Regions from separate parts of the Homo sapiens genome. Here all the other regions are linked to region 2. The links are contacts of gene promoters, found by promoter capture Hi-C in human tissues and cell types (Jung and others, 2019). All regions are on one chromosome and are shown on one strand. Each heading gives the region's core, a stretch centred on a gene start or on the middle of the fragment in contact. The rest is flanking DNA. Distances are from core to core; before and after follow the strand shown.

Region 1 (2,700 bases), core at 137-2,636, 560 kb after region 2:
TGGAAATTTGATGATATTGAAGAATTTTTTAAATATATTGTGCTTATATTAAAATAAAGTCTTTATCTTTTAGAAACACATATTGAAGTACATTCCTATGGAATGATATGCTTTCTGGGATTAGTGCATTCCAAGAACACTGTTCACTCTTACCGACACTATGTCATCACCATCTCCTTTTCATTTTCATTATCATCACAGTCATCATTCTCTGCTATTTCTCAGTGTTATCATACGCATGTAAATGAGCTCAGCATCACACAACAAAAACAGGCATTTCTGGGGAGAAAACGATCTGAGAATCACAGTGAAACAGCAGCTGAATTAAATTAGAAGTGGAGTTATGTGAAAGCAAACATGAAATTTGGGGCAGGGTGACAGAAGACATACCTATATTCTTGGAGGGGGTGAGTACATTTAATCTTGGGTCACTGTATTTTGAGAAGAAGGTGCAGCACCTGAAATGATCCTGAGAGGAAACATGGAAAATAGAGGAATGGCTTCTAGCCTTAAGCTTACAAGGGTATTTTCTCCTGGAGAAAGAGGAGACCCTATTAGGAAGGCTGGTAAACAAGAGCAGGAAAGTGAAGTGGGGAAATCTAAATTCAGTTTCTAGCCATAGCCAGTGCCTCTCTATCAGCTCAGAAGATTAAAGAGGAAGAAATGGGCCTCATTAAGAGAGAGTTCAATTAGGAGAAAACTGTGCCCGTGATCACAAGGCAGAACAGGCTCTCAAAAGAAGTAATTGAGCCTCCATTGGCTCATATCTTTGAAAACAGAAAAATTCCCAATTTCTCCTACATGAACTGGTGCACTTGGGAACATTTGGCTGGACCAGGAGATTTCCAACTTTAACTCCCATCACTCCTAATATTGTCTCTTGCCTAGAGCTTACATATCATCCCAAGGGAGACTTTCAGCCTCCTTCCTCTTCTCCCACAGGAGTGCACCTGGAGTTATTTTTATAGGAGCAGGTGTGATTTAGCAGCTACTTGCTGGGTTCACAGATGATCAGCCCAAATCTGAGGCTGCTGGCTGCTGGGGTCTGGCCCTGGAACACAGCAATTGGCTCACTGAGTCTGGGGGTCATATCATGGTTCTTCCATCATTTAAACCATTATGGACAATTCCACTTTTTACTATCTGAGTGCCACTAAACCCTGGGTTATGCAAGGCAGGTCCCATTGCCTCTCTCCCCACCCACTTTTTATAATGAATTTTGGATTGGAAATGCCCCTATAAATCTCTGAGTCCGACACTTTCGTTTTGCAGATAAGCAAACTGAGGCTTAGGGAACTGACCTGCCTGAGGCCACACACTGGTAGGTTCCTGCTGCTACCCAGGCCACTGTTTCAATAGCCAAAGAACAGAAGATTAACTCTTAGGAAGAGTGGAGATCAGCTCAACTTCAACCAAAGGCAAAAGATGAATGAGTTTTGGAGAGCTTCAGGGTTCATATGTTTTTCCATAAGTCTGCTGGGCTAAAAAGGAATGGAATGGCCCTATTGGAGTGAAAAACAGAGTTCCAAAATTCTGGGAAAGCCACACCGGGCAATTTTCTTCTTCCCCATTACAGAGATGGACTAAACTGGCAAAGGGGTAGGAATTACGTCCACCTCACACCTGCCTCATTAATTATTTCACTTGACGTTCATGTAGAAAGAACTACTAAGTGCTGGTCACTGTGCTCGGTGCTGCAGTAAACCCAAAGATACATAAGTCCCTACCCCAAGCAGCTTACAGGCAGGTGGGACCTATTGCTAGGTGATGCAAGCATGTAGACACCCAGGAAACCAGGCCATCAAGCAGTCCCAGCCTCATCCCTCGGACAACTGGCAAGATTGAGGCAGTGAAGTACAACCATTTCTGGAGCATGGATGTTACATTTTTTTTCTGCTAGTTTCATTAGCTTTATTTTCTCCCCCTTCTCAGAATCTTAAGGCTGAAATGAGTCTTAGAGATCATCTAGCCCAACTGTCTTCATTATGTGGATGAATAAGCTGAAGGCAGGTAGTGGAGGGTGCTAAGTGAATTCCCTATATCAGCATGAGTCTGGGCTGAAAACACTCCCCATGATGAGCCCCAGCCTCCCTGCACACCGAACATGAGCTAGGCTGTTTCTTTCCTAGTCCTTTTTTTCTGGATCAATGTAATGAGCCAAGACCAAAGCAAAGCTGGTTTTTAAGCAGAAACCTGCTAAATGTGGACACACTGAATTATTCATATTTGGGGTCATTAATAATGTATTGGGTGTTAATATCGAATTTATAAATGTGTCCATAACCATAGAGGTGATTAGTCACTGTTATGTGCTGCTCAGAGGTAACAGATTACCTGGCCCAAGTGTCCTTGACTAGCTCCTGTGCTTGGAGACGGCTCCCCTGCAGAGCACTGTGACCTTCCTGTCTCTATTAGCCTGATGTGAAAGAGCAGATGTCTGGGCTAAAAAATAACACTACAGAGCCCCGGTGTACTTCCAGCCACTAGCCCATGACACTGGCTGCTTTATTAAGTACTCAGCAGAGTTGCATGAACCCTCCAATATGCCTCCCATGTGGCAAGACAGAGCGACTGCTTGACAGTAAGGCTGCATGTCTGGGGATAGTGCCCCTGGGTGCTCAGGCCCCTTCACTCCTCTCTGCCTCACAGTTTTAGAGAAGCTACCTAGATGGCCTCATTTCATGTTGGCAATTCATAGCA
Region 2 (2,700 bases), core at 121-2,620:
AAGAGCTGACAATAAATACGAGTCTCAAGGTCTAGGAAAGCCTCCCTCACAACCTGAGCTGCTTGAGGACAAGGGATTTTCTTTTGAATCAGCAGTACCTTATTTGTGTATCTGTGATAGAGTTCCTGGTACATAAGAAGGTCTCAATAAATATGTGAATTTATGAATATTAGGCAGATTGCAACCTTGACAGGCCACTGCCTCTTAAATCTCCTTTCTGTGATCTTTTAATATTTAACATCTAAAAGGCCGCCGCTACTTGCTTTGGGATAAGTATCCCCGGTATGTACTTTAAAATGCCCAAGCCTAGAGAAATGATTCTTGTCTTAAGGGCACCATTTCGCTCTCCCACCGTAAAGCGCCCCAGGCTTGGGATCTGGGTCCCAAGGCTACAGGGAAGAGTTTGGAACGGGAAGCTCATCTTCCGGCCCTCTGATTGGCCGGCTCGCACTCCACTCACGCGGCGCGCAGCTCTGATTGGCCTCGGCGGCACCCCTCGTCCCGCGACTACTTTGTGTGCTGGGGCGGCGCGCTCCGGTCCTCCCGCTCAGCTGGCGGTCTGGGCTGCTCTGGGGCAGCCCTTCGGTCCACTGCTCTGCATCGCGGGCGCCGGGAATTTTCCGAGTCCGAGCGGGTAGGACGCATCCTAGGGCAAAGCCTCTCCCCTCTCCCCGTGCTGTTCTCTTTCCCGTACTAAATAAACTTCCGCCTCAGAGGGGCTGTCGCAGCCGCGGGTCGGGAGAGGCCGGGCATCGAACTCAGGCCCTCGTGGGGGGGGTCTTTCTCTTCGAGTGAATGTGGAAACAGCTCTTACAAGATAAAGTAGGGCTTCGCTGAGTCTCCTGGGGGAGCGATGCCATTGTAGGATCGCGCTGGAAGCAGCAGTCAAGCGGCCAAATGCGGGCTGCAGGGGCTGAGCAGCAGCAGCGCGCACCCCTAAAAGTAGCAAGGAGCCAGCTTCAAAACCTCTAGTGCGGGTGCCCCCTAGGGCCGCCGACTGAGCTGGCACGGGCCGGTCCATTCCCGGCGCTGTAGGGAGCACAGCATTCTCTGGAGGCGAGTCTCCTCCCGGGATCCAGGATCCGCTCGCGCCCCGCTCAGCCTCCGGCCTTCAGGCGGTAGAGGGCGGCCTACGCCTGTGTGCGAGCCGGAGCCGGCGTGCGCAGCCGCTGCCCTGCTGGAACTGTGCCGTCCCGCTGTGGCCCGCGGCTCTGCTAGGCGGTGGATGCTGCTGCTACGCTCTCCACCGGCGCAGCGAGGAAGGGGGCGGGGAGAATCCCTGGCACATGCCAGGGTCGCCGTAGGTGGCAGCGGCCGGCGCATGCGCGCCCTCTCCCAGAAGCCAGGAACGCCGAGGGGCGCGCTCCCCCATTCGCGCGCGCACGCCGGCGCTGGCCGAGGCTTCCCCGCCTGCGCTCGTTGTCAGAGCCGCTCCGGCGCGTGCGCGCGTTATCTCCGGCCGACCCGAGCAGCCGGTTCCCTCCTCTCCAGGCCCCCTCCCCATCCCACCCCCGCCGCCTGGCCCCAGCCGACCCGTCCCTTCGTCTCCCCGCGGAATGGGGCCGGCACTGCTCAGGGTCGCGCGCCCTGGACCCAGCTCGCTCTCGGTCTCGCGCTGTCAGCGACTGCCCGGCTCGCGCCGCCTCGCGCTCTGCCTCAGTCAGTGGCGCCGAAGGCTCCGTTAAGCGGCGGCGGCGGTTCCTGTTTCCGTTTCTTCCTCTCCGTTCGGTCGGGAGTAGCATCCTCCACTCAGCCACCCTTCCCACTCCCCCATCGTGGGGCAGCTGCGGCTGAGGGCTGTGGCTTTGGCAGCTGCGACGGGGAGCGGCGGAGACCGCCTCTGCTCCCGCCTGGGGTAAGGGGGCGTTTTGGGAGCCGGGCCCCGCGCGCCTCGGGGTCTTGGGCTGGGCTGCGCGCGGGATCTGAGGAGGCTCCGCGGCTGTCCCTGCTCGTTCACCCGGGCCTGTTGCTGCAACTGCTGCCGGTTAACCAGCGGCTCTCGGAAAAGTGGGGAGGGAGCCCCCGGGACGCTCTGGCGGATGCCTTGGCGCAGCCCCGGGGGCGCGGGCAGAGGGTGAGGGGCGCCCGCCTCTCCAGCCGGGACGCGGAGCTGCGCCGCTGCTGCCCTCGGCGTCGCGCATCCTTGCCTAGGGCAGGGGCCAAAGCCTAGGGAAGGAGAAGGGTTGGGGGCGGGGGTGGGAGGTGTCCGTCGTTTCCCCTCCACACCTACCTTCCCTTCGTCAGCAGCTCGGTCCCTGGAGTCGCGGTTTGTGGGGAGGAAGATGCCCGTGCGTTATGGGCTCTTTCTGAGTGCTGCTCGGGCTAGAAAGCAGGGAGTGGACCCTCACAAAGATCCGCGAGGGACTGATGCAGGGCAGTTAAAGGCTTGAGTGCAGCTGTACTCCCTTTTGATGTGCAAATGACGAGCTGGCGGCTTTTGAGTATCAACTTATTTGGGAAGGTTAAATGAGTCCATATTTATCAGTTCTAGGAGGTTTGTCCTGCAGGATTGAGTGGGTTGTCGGGTGCAGCACCTGTTCTTTCTTCACAGTGGGGATTGCAATCTTCAGAGACGCAGTGTATTTCTTAAGTGGCAGTGTCATGCTTAGGGTTTGTCCCGGATGAGCTTTTATTTTAGCATTTTGCCATATAATATATAGATTGAGGCCTTGGTTAAAGGCACGGACAGGTGGTGTTTTT
Region 3 (2,700 bases), core at 119-2,618, 650 kb after region 2:
TAACCCTTTGCCATCCTCCTGCAGGCTAAGGCAGTTCCCTGGGATGAGCAGAGCAGCCACTTTATTCCTAGATCTCCTCTCTAAGGTTATGAGAAGACTCAGTGTTTGCTTTTCTTCCCCCCACATCCAGAAAAACAAAAACAACAACAAAAAAAAAACAAAAGCAAATGCTGGGCCTGCCCGAGATTTTTCCTCACTATCCTTGCAAGAGCCCAGGAGTCCTATTTGGCTGTTTCATGACAAGCCAATTAGGTAAAGATTGTTAATCAGAGTAATGAGGGGAGAAGGGACTGGAGGAAAGGAAGGAGGACAGGAGTGTGGCAGAGGCAGCTGCAGAAGACAGAACTACCCCTCCCGCTCTGCTCTGATGTTTTATTCAGGCTGTTTGCAAATGAGCCAGTGGAAACAGCATTAACAATAAATGAGATGCATTAGACTGAGAAGGGGCTGGGAAGGGAGATTTGAGGGTCTTTCCTTGCCAGCCAGGCTCACGGGCTCCCTGTTGGGTCGACAAAGGTGAGTCCTTCTCAGGCGGCCTTACCTGCTGGCCCACCTGTACTCTGGCTTTCTGAAAAGGTTTATGTCCCATTTAGCAAATAATACCAAGAAGCTCAGAGGCTTTTCTAGCAAGTGAGAGCCAGCCTAAAAGGCCTATCCAACATACTAACACCTGATGGCAGGAAAATTTTACTCCCAGCCTCATCACTAAAGTGGTCACAATTCAAATGACCTGTTAGGTAGTTTTAGGTCCTCCACTTTATTAAAATAATGAATACTTGATTTATGCTTTATAATTAACCAAGCACTTTCCATCACAAAACATTTCTCACAATAACCCTGTCAAGGAGTGGGAGTGATCCATTTTATAAATAAACCGAGCAAGGTTACCCAGGGCCTGAAAGACCTCACTTTCAGAATTCCATTCATTTTTTCCTTTCGGACAATTTCCATGAGATCAAATGCCCCCCACCTACCAATTTACCCAGACTTGTATAGCTCCTTCTTTTCATTCAACAAAAATGTACTAAATAGCACAGGGGCTGAGCTAGGCCTCCGGAGCACAGGAAATCCCAGTGGCCAAAACATCATGTTTGATTCTATAGGCTATCAAGCTGCCAGTTTTCCTCCGATATGGATTCTGATTCTACTACAATTAGTACTTCCCAATTTAAAAATGATGGCAGTTGTCATTCATTAAGCACACACTAAGGGCTAGGCTCTGTGGTAAACAACCTACAAATGCGATTTCATTTAAAGCTTTGAGTCTATGTCCCTTAACCCCAGACAGAGCTCATGGTCAGAAACCATATGCTGCCAACACAACACTTTTTCCTTTTTTTTTTTTTTTTTGAGATGGAGTTTTGCTCTTGTTGCCTGGGCTGGAGTGTAGTGGCGCGATCTCGGCTCACTGCAACCTCCACCTCCTGGATTCTCTTGCCTCAGCCTCCCTAATAGCTGGGATTACATGTGCCCGCCATCAGGCCCGGCTAATTTCTTTTGTATTTTTAGTAGAGACAGGGTTTCACCATGTTGGCCAGGCTTGGTCTTGAACTCCCGACCTCAGGTGACCCACCCACCTCAGCCTCCCAAAGTGCTGGGATGACGGGTGTGAGCCACTGTGCCTGGTAAACACTTTTTATAATAAAGGGAGCAAGCTTTCCTTTTCCCCATTGAATCCCACCCTTTCACAACCTCAGTGAAACTACTCCCGGTAGTGAGACACGTTCCAGTTGTCTGACTTGGCAGCATGATTCCTCCAGGGTAGCTCTTCCACTGTATTTCTGCTTCACACCCATCAGCATCATGGGCAAGGGTCTCTCCAGCAAAGGGTGGTTAAAGAAGGCCAAGTTTCATTTCGTAGCTTAGACAAAACAAACCTCTGGCACATAAACATTGGATTCCTGTTGGTCAGGCCAACGAGACCCAGGAAGACTTAGAGTGATATTCCCTGGCACCCATGTCTCTCAAAGGTCTCCCCTAATATCCCCAATATACCAGGAAGGCATAAAGGAAGGAAAAGATGTCTATCAGAGAGAAGCAGAGCTCCAGAAGACAATTGTTTACCTTGCGTTGCTTTTCAGCGTAGGGACCTCAGTGCGGCAGCAGCATCCTCATCACCAGGGAGCTGGTTAATAAAGCGGAAACTCCAGCTGCACTCCAACCTCCTCCATCAGAGCCTGTGCGCTAACATTTTCAGGGGAGTGGAATACACGTTGGAGTTTGAGAGGCACTGAGTTAGAACACGTGGGGAGAGACTACAGTGTAGTGCTGTGGTTCTCAAGGTATGGGGCCCCAGAGACCAGCAGCATCGGCATTACCTACTTTGAAAACACAAATTTTTGAGCCCCACCCCAGGCCAATTGAATCAGAAGCTCTAGGGGTGGGCCCTCACCATCTGTGTTTAACAAGCCCTCCAGGTGATCCTGATGCATGCTAAAGTATGAAAAGCCCTGGTATAGACAATCAGTTTTCCAAGCCCTGGCTCCCCTACTTCTGACTCATCCCTTAGGCTGCACTCTTGGCTGACATTTGGGGGAATGGAAGGAAGGCCTTGTATACTTGGTTTTCCCCCTTCCATTTGATTTCCCTGGGGACGGTTCTTAAAACTCAAGCTTCTGAACAAAAAGTCTGTCTTGCTTGTGATTTAATCCTTCATTTGCATTGCCAACAACTAATGGGAAGAAAGAAGTTCCAGGAGAC

What was found. Contacts are between HindIII fragments. The study calls those that stand out against the background at their distance.
Region 1: a contact is called between a fragment that was not itself captured here and the fragment with the promoter of FUT8 in region 2, in 1 of the 25 tissues and cell types used here (lymphoblastoid cells).
Region 3: a contact is called between a fragment that was not itself captured here and the fragment with the promoter of FUT8 in region 2, in 2 of the 25 tissues and cell types used here (H1 embryonic stem cells and heart left ventricle).

What each region holds. Positions count from the first base shown.
Region 1 is chr14:65,972,946-65,975,645 of GRCh38, forward strand. No RefSeq gene overlaps it. Among named protein-coding and RNA genes, the nearest start is that of LINC02290, 140 kb to the right of the region's middle. The HindIII fragment of the contact is 6,017 bases long and covers 1-2,700 here.
Region 2 is chr14:65,411,360-65,414,059 of GRCh38, forward strand. FUT8 (fucosyltransferase 8) reads left to right here and starts at 1,371. Exons shown (of 11, transcript NM_001371533.1): 1 at 1,371-1,855. FUT8-AS1 (FUT8 antisense RNA 1) reads right to left here and starts at 1,258. Exons shown (of 1, transcript NR_024334.1): 1 at 1-1,258. RefSeq lists enhancers at 550-869, 2,112-2,676 and silencers at 1,410-1,569, 1,870-1,989, 2,000-2,189. The HindIII fragment of the contact is 6,462 bases long and covers 1-1,790 here.
Region 3 is chr14:66,065,029-66,067,728 of GRCh38, forward strand. No RefSeq gene overlaps it. Among named protein-coding and RNA genes, the nearest start is that of LINC02290, 45 kb to the right of the region's middle. The HindIII fragment of the contact is 3,448 bases long and covers 1-2,700 here.